Regions from separate parts of the Homo sapiens genome. Here region 2 is linked to region 1. The links are contacts of gene promoters, found by promoter capture Hi-C in human tissues and cell types (Jung and others, 2019). All regions are on one chromosome and are shown on one strand. Each heading gives the region's core, a stretch centred on a gene start or on the middle of the fragment in contact. The rest is flanking DNA. Distances are from core to core; before and after follow the strand shown.

Region 1 (4,097 bases), core at 199-2,698:
TGGTAAAACCCTGTCTCTACTAAAAATACAAAATTAGCTGGGCATGGTGATGCATGCCTGTAATTCCAGCTACTCAGGAGGCTGAGGCAGGAAAATCGCTTGAACCTGGGAGGTGGAGGTTGCAGTGAGCCAAGATCGTGCCATTGCACTCCAGCCTGGGCAACTAGAGCAAAACTCCGTCTCAAAAAGAGAAAAAAGAAAAAGAAAATAATATGTGGAGTCAATTTAATCCATTGATCTATGTGTGGTATTTCTGAGAGATTATTCAGGAGATTCAGGAGCAACAAATCCAAGAACTAATTAAGAGAAGAAAAAGTGATCAATAAGTTCTTAAATTGTAACTTTAATAGTTTTTTTTCCTTGACTATTTGTATTTTTGAATGGTGATTTTTTAGTTTTGTTCCTTTTCCTCTTAGGGTATAGACAAATATTTTTTATTTTTAAATTAATTTTACTTATTTATTTTTTGAGACAAGGTCTTGCTCTGTTGCTCAGGCCAGAGTGCGGTGACACCATCATACCTCACTGAAGCCTGAACTTCCGGGCTCAACTGATCCTCCTACCTTTGTCTTTGGAATAGCTGGGCCCACAGGCGTGTGCCACCACACCAGGCTAACTTTCATTTTTGGTAGAGTTTGGGAGGAGGAGAGGGGTGTCTCACTATGTTTCTTAGGCTGGTTTTGAACTTCTGGCCTCAACTGATCCTCCTGCCTTGGCCTCCGAAAATGCTGGGATTAAAGGCGTGAGCCACCGTGCCCAGCCTGTATTCATCAATATTTTATTAAGCCAAAGAAACAGGAAATTCGGACTATTAAATATTTGTCCGTTTTAGCTGTTGTAAATATTTCCCCCAAATTTACTTACCTAAAAATTTTTCTTATTCGTTTTTTACCATTTGGAAATTTTGGATGCTTCTAAATAACTATGAAGATTTACAAAGTATTACATGAAGGATCAAAAAAATTTTTTAAATTTCTTATTTTATCTTCAAGAAGCCTATTCCAGAACAAAAATAATAAAACTATTTAGCAGTTATTTCTTCAGATGATTTTTTAGTCAAATTTTTAGTCAAATATATTCGTGTCCAAAGATGAAGAACATAATGTCATGTATTGAAGAATGTGATGGAACTTCAAACCCTCATATAGGACGTGAGTCCATTTACTTAGCGCTTGACGAGACAAGCTGGGCCTGTCGGGTGGTATTAAAAGTCCCAGTCCCATGTGTTACCAAGGAGGCCGGCTCTACCTCAGGAGCCATGAGGGTTTCGGCGCCCCACCCTGAGGAGCTCACACCCATCCAGCAGGTGATCCCTTCCGAGGCTACCTGGATCAGTTTCTACTCAGACTCGCCTCCTACTGGCCCTAAGAACGCACTAACTCCACCCTAAGCCTCAGGCCAGGGGCCCAGTAGTGGCCGATCTGCGCATGCGCACTCGAGGCAAGGCGGCCACTCCCAGAAGTCTCCGGGGCTCGAGCGGTGGGTGGGAGGCGCGGTCCAAGTGGTCGCTGCCGTATTTCTCGTAGGTTTTTAGGATTCTGGACTCCATTTCTCACCGGTACCTGCGGTCCTGACTGTTCTGGCTTGGACTACATATTACAAAGGCAACGGAGAAAACTTGGACCCCTGGCTCCGGTTCCGGGACCTTTTGGTTCCACCTGAAGAAGGCGGCGCAGGTCACTGCGGGAGCCTCTGCAGCCCCAGCCCGCCGCCCGCGTGGTACCCTGCGTGGCGGTGAGAGTGGGGCTGCAGGAGGCGCTCAGAGCGCGGAGGCCCCCAGGCGGGCCGGGCGAGTCTCCCGCCTCCTCAGGCCCTAGGGTGCTGGAGCTGCGGAGGAGGGGCCCGTCTCTAGGAGACAGGCGGGGAGCGTGAGAGACCGCGCAGCGGCGACAGGACCGGCTTGCCTGTGTGACGTGGGTGCAGTTGCGGGACTGTGAGGGGTGCGTAGTCGACCTTGTGTGACCTGTACATGCCGTGTGTGTCCTTTGTAAAGCGTGCTTCGCTGGGCTCTGTGGGGTCTATTGACCCTTGGCTCCAGGTTCCCTGCTGCTTCCTGTGCCTTCCTCAGCCTAGTACGACTACAACAGAGAAATGGTCCCAATGGGAAATCAGATACTGAGTCTTAGATGAAGATTTCCAGTGAGAAGAAACAGATAGGATGAGAAGCTTAGAAGAGTAATTGCCCTTAAGAAAGGTATGATAGATTCTGTTAAATAAAAAAGTATTCAGTGACACTTGTTAAAGCATGCAAAGAACCCTTTATTCAGGACCATGGTGGTAGGTATTGGGATCCCGGCTGTGAGATTTTGCAGTGGGTAACAGACATTGGGCTCAACTCCGAATTCAGCATGAACAAGTGGGAATTTATAGCCAAGAAGGTTAGGGATCACTGGATGAGAAATTACTAAGAGGAAATGTCTGGGTTAAGGAAGATTCTGACTAAACGCACCTAACAGGATTATTTCTGGAGAGAGAGACCTGGGGGACGGTGGAGGATGAAGATACGGAGGCGAAAGGGTCTTGCTAAACTGACTTAGAATAGTTCTTTGCTATAGCCAGATTTTACAGTGAAGTGTACAGATGGGCCTAGCTGAAGGTGTAGTAGCCTGACTAAAATTTGGTCTGGCAGGGTTTGTCAGTTTCGAGTGTAGGATTCCCTCCTGAAAAGGGTTGTTACTCCGCCCCCACCTCCCGGTTCTTGGAGTTTCATTTACATGTTTAACAAACACGGCCTTGAATTCTGACCCCAAGAACCTGCAGTGAAGGATGATTGCAGGTTCCATCCAACATACTTCCTTCTGGTCGTGTGTATGAAATTACGCGCCTGCAGCCTTGGAGGGGGGAAACATAAGCGCTAAGTATTATGAGGCAATTTTGGATATTCCGTTTTGGATTTCTGTAGATCAAAAGCAACAAGAATATGAACTTAGCCGTGATGTGAAGGAAGTGAGCCAGAATTTAAGTTTTCCAAAATAGGAATTCTCGGTCATTGGTGTACTGTCTGTAGACCAATGCCCTTATGGGCATAAGGGACATCACAAACCCCCTGAAATTCTATAAAGAATTCCTGTACATGTTTGTTAATTTGCATTTTTCTAGGATGTCCATAATCCAAATTATTTAGACTCAGGTTTTAGATCTGGAATCAAAGAGTTTTATACCTTTGAATGGTTTTGCAGAAAACTAATGAACGAGATTATGGGAATGGTTAAGAAAATTATACAGCGTCCAAGGGATTGGATATTATACAAATAATAAGATTTATGTTTGTAAAGAATCTGTCACAGGATAAATAGCTGTGATCTAATGTTTAACACTATTTAGAGTTACAGTGGTGGATCACAGTTCTCAAACTATATATGCAACTCTTTTTCTTTCTTTTTTTTTTTTTTTTTTTTTTTTGAGACTGAGTTCCGCTCTTGTTGCCCAGGCTGGAGTGCAATGGTGCGATCTCTGCTCACTGCAACCTCCGCCTCCCGGGTTCAAGCGATTCTCCTGCCTCAGCCACCTGAGTAGCTGAGATTACAAGCATGGGCCACCATGCCTGGCTATTTTTTTTTTTTTTTTGTATTTTTAGTAGAGACGGGGTTTCTCCATGTGGGTCAGGCTGGTCTTGAACTCCCAACCTCAGGTGATCCACCCACCTTGGCCTCCCAAAGTGTTGGGATTACAGGCGTGAGCCACCACGCCCAGCCGCAGCTCATTTTTTAAAAATGGAATTTTGGGCCTGGCACAGTGGCTTCCGCCTGTAATCCCAGCACTTTGGGAGGCCGAGGCGGGCAGATCATGAGGTCAGGAGATTGAGACCATCCTGGCTAACATGGTGAAACCCCGTCTCTACTAAAAATACAAAAAATTAGCCGGGCGTGGTGGTGGGCGCCTGTAGTCCCAGCTAGTCGGGAGACTGAGGCAGGAGAATGGTGTGAACCTGGGAGGCGGACCTTGCAGTGAGCCGAGATCGAGCCACTGCACGCCAGCCTGGGCGACAGCGCGAGACTCCGTCTCAAAAAAATAAAATTTAAAATTAAAATTAAACAAAGGGAATTTTGCAAAAACTTTTGCAAGGATTGTATCCAAAATGATTATTTAATTGGTTT
Region 2 (4,110 bases), core at 1,167-3,666, 1.2 Mb after region 1:
TCCCAGCACTTTGGGAGGCCTAGGCAGGCAGATCACCTGAGGTCAGGAGTTCGAGACCAGCCTGGCCAACATGGTGGAAACCTCATCTCTACTAAAAACACAAAAATTAGCCGGGCATGGTGGCAGTCGCCTGTAATCCCAGCTACTCAGGAGCCTGAGGCAGGAGAACCGCTTGAACCCGGGAGGTGAAGGTTGCAGTGAGCTGAGATCACGCTACTGCACTCCAACTTGGGTGACTGAGTGAAGACTCCATTTCAAAAAAAAAAAAACTGTCTGAGAAGCCCAATCTAAGAACTTTAACTTACATCAACAGGAGAAGCTAGAACACGTAGAGTTTGGGTTTTTTGTTTGTTTTCTGTTTGTTTTTCTTTAAGCAGAGCAAACAAGATCAGGACTTTTATAGCAATAAAGAAGGGAATGGATATTGGGTTAGCCACATATGTGGCAAAACAATTAACAGTATCTACAATTTAATATATTCTCAAATAGCTTTCAATTATGTAGGAAGTTAAAATATCACTTAAAACATGAGATACATTTCAATATGTGCATATACAAATATGTGTATGTATATTTATGTATATGCATATATATCTACATATGTATATAGGTAAAACCAAACTAAGCATACATGATAAACTGAACCATTTGCTATATTAATAAGACAAAATTAGGAAGATTTTTCCAAAGAGTAACAGAAGATTCCAGGTTACTTGATAAGTCCTTTTAGGCATTTGCTAAGAAAAAAAAAATCAGCCGGGCGCAGTGGCTCATGCCTGTAATCCCAGCACTTTGGGAGGCCGAGGTGGACGGTTCACAAGGTTAGGAGTTCAAGACAAGCCAGGCCAACATAGTGAAGCCCCGTCTCTACTAAAAATACAACAACAAAAAAATTACCCGGGCGTGGTGGCCGGCACCTGTAATCCTAGCTACTCGGTAGGCTGAGGAAGGAGAATCGCTTGAACCTGGGAGGCGGAGGTTGCAGTGAGCCGAGATCGCGCCACTGCACACCAGCCCGGGCGACAGTGCGAGACTCCATCTCAAAAAAAAAAAAAATCAGGTCCTGGAAAAATAAAGCATTTCAGGAACAAAGAGAAAACTTCAAGGCACCTTAAACATGGCTTTTAGATATCACAACCGTTATTTCCTCTCCTCTGGGGAACCTCTCTTGGAGGACAGAAATGAGAAGGGAGACAATACACCTCCCCTAGGGCCCAAATGACAAGGCCAGAGCTTACTCTGCGTTCCCCTCCCCCGCCATGGGAGGGCTATCAGAGGAAACTGGGGCTTCCAACTCAAAACTCAGTGTCATAGAAAAATCCCCTTTACTATCACGGGGCCGAGCTGTCTTCTGCTCTCACATATGACTATGTGTGACATTTGGTCAAAGACACACAAACACAGTCTCAACTCCACGCACACCCAATGCTTCACAGTCACACACCCACCACTGTACACAAAGTCACAAGCACCCACCCTCCATACTCCCACACAAGGACACAGAGTCACAACTACATAAGTACAAAGCTCCCTATATCTGCACACAAACGAACATATGGTCACAGAGTTACAATCACACACCCACCGCGGGCACACAGTCACAGCTAACCCACACCCTCACACAGCGTTACACAGTCACACAATAACAGTCCTAACACAGGGACTCACGGGACACCCGCAGAGTCCTCCCCACATCCGTACACAAGGTGTCACACACAATCACAATCACACACACACTGTGCTAGGACATACATTCACAAAAACACAATTTCACAACCGCCCTTCTCGGCGCGTTCCGCCTGAACAGACTTAATACTCAGTCTCAACCTCCGCACCGGATTCCAGACGCTTCACCTCCAACCTCCTCCTGATCCTGTAGTCTCCGAGCCGACCCGCTCAGAGGCCAGCACCTGGGTCGCGTGCAGCTCTCCCCCGAGCCGCGGGAGTCGCGAGGGGAGGGGCCGAGGGCGCGGCGCCTTCTGGGAAATGTAGTTCAGCGCCACGCCCGCGATGAGCAAGATGGCGCCCGGCTTGAGCCCAGCCAAAGGGATTACCCTCATTCCCGAACCGTGTCTGAGAGTCTCCTGGGGTTCCTGGCTTAGTATCGCACCGTGGCTGTTACATAAAGTCAGCACAGCGTGTTTAAGCTGATGTTACACCACTACCCAATCCCAGGGATAGAGTAAACTAAGACTAAGGCCTTACACCCCTGCCCCGGCCAGGGAGACAGTCCCACAAGCTCTGGCGGAGGAAAAGTTCGCGCGAAAAGCTGACTCAAACCGCTGAACCTTCTGGGAAATGTAGTCTACCCTCAAAAGAGTGGCACGGAGGACGGGCCAAGATCTCTCGATTCCGTCCGGTTCTGAGTCGGGGCCTGGCCCAGCCCAGGAGACCTCTGGGAGCGCTGCCCGCGGAAGGAGTGCGCAGGCGCGGAATCTCCGACTTGCCATGGTCGTCTTTGTCTGCCGGTGAGTTGGGTTTCGGCCCTGTGGGACTTGGGTTTCTGGACACTGAAACGGGCCAGGGACGCTGGAGGGGAGGATTTGCAGTGCCTGCGACGGGGCTGGGAGTATGGAGGGGAGGAATCGCCTTCTATGATGTGCGGTGATCCGAGCTTGTGTGGCTGGGGGCAGGGGTACAGTTCGGGTGGGTTCGCGGGTGGGTGACCGAGAGTGTGAGGGGGTGTTGAGGGTGCAGAGTTAGTGAGAAACTGGTTCCAAGTTTGTGAGGATGGACGGATGGCTTTGTGAGGTAGTAACCTCTAAGCCTCACTTTTCTCATTTCTAAAATAATAAAGATGCGTTTTCTGGAAAATAGGAAACGGAAAAGGCTAAGGAATTGAGCGGATAAGTAATTTTAAAGGTGATTTTTTATATAAAAGCAGACCTATTGTGGAGTAGAAAACAAAATCAGCATTACCTTTCCATTATTTTTTTAAAGAGGCAAGATTTCGGAAAAACTTGTTACTGGGTGCCTGTACACCCAGTAGGCATTGACTTTTCTTAATACTTTGGAGAAACTTTGGTGCAGTTGCTTGGAGAAACCCTGAACTAAGGAATATCTTTAAGAGGTAGTTTCCAATAGCGCAGACGGCACAGAATTTGGAAGCTACTTGTCCTGCCTTTAGCGCAGAGGTCAAGAAACTCCCTAGTTCGTCAGTGAGGGCAGCAATCTCACTCCTAATTTAATCAGGGTTTCCCCAGCCTTTTGTAAATATAGGGGAAATTCTTTTCTTGTGTATACAAAGATAGAAGTATCCTATCTTCAAGTATCTTGTCACACTTATTCTTAACATATCAACATATTCAAGTATCTTGTCACACTTATTCTTAACATATTTTTCAATAAAATAAAAAAGTAACAGGGTTAATAGTTTTGAAATATACAGAAAAAGTAAAAGATACAAAGAAGACAGGACTTAGTTTCTGCTTTTCCCCTAACTATTGGTGTTTCTAAGTTTCTGGCCTTGATCATCTAAGTACTCCTATCAGCAACAACATTACACTGCCATCCATGGCTTCATCTAATACAGATGACTAATAAATGTCTGTTTCTGCTGGAGGCTTGTCCTGAGCTCCTAATCCATATTATCTAATTGCCCAATGTGCAGTCCACCTGGAAGTTACAGGGAACTTCAAGCTCTTTATGTCTAAAGGGCTCCTTCTTCCTGCAGTCTGCCTCCATCTATTTCCCCTCTGTACCTGTTTCAGCAATTTATAGCACTGTCTAGCCAGGTTCTAAGGCACTTACATCTTAGAGAAGGCTTCTAAGTAAGTTTGATCCTTTGATTTGTTATATCCCATTACAAATTGTAAACCAAGGTTTCTCAGCACACATAATCATAAATGTATATGTTTGCTGAATCAGTGAATGAACAGTCAGCCCTCTGTGTCTGTAGGCTCTGCTTCCACGGATTCAACAAACATGAATCATAACTGTTGTTAAGCTTGCGATGGTTGTATCTGTACGTGTACAGATTTTTTTTTCTTGTCATGATTCCCTAAACAATACAGTATAACAACTATTTACCAGACATTTACGTTGTATTACGTATGATAAGTAATCTGGAGATAATTTTAAAGTATATGGGAGGATGTGCATAGGTTATAT

The links. The method cuts DNA at HindIII sites, captures the fragments that hold promoters and counts their contacts. A contact is called where the count stands out against the background at its distance.
Region 2: a contact is called between the fragment with the promoter of ZNF260 here and the fragment with the promoter of ZNF607 in region 1, in 1 of the 25 tissues and cell types used here (dorsolateral prefrontal cortex).

The regions. Positions count from the first base shown.
Region 1 is chr19:37,717,112-37,721,208 of GRCh38, reverse strand. It overlaps ZNF607 (zinc finger protein 607), which reads left to right and starts at 1,448. Exons shown (of 5, transcript NM_032689.5): 1 at 1,448-1,940. RefSeq lists silencers at 1,687-1,796, 1,857-1,946. The HindIII fragment of the contact is 7,560 bases long and covers 1-4,097 here.
Region 2 is chr19:36,526,577-36,530,686 of GRCh38, reverse strand. ZNF260 (zinc finger protein 260) reads left to right here and starts at 2,416. Exons shown (of 3, transcript NM_001166037.2): 1 at 2,416-2,468. RefSeq lists enhancers at 1,689-1,888, 1,700-2,408, 2,039-2,668, 2,409-3,119. The HindIII fragment of the contact is 10,038 bases long and covers 1-4,110 here.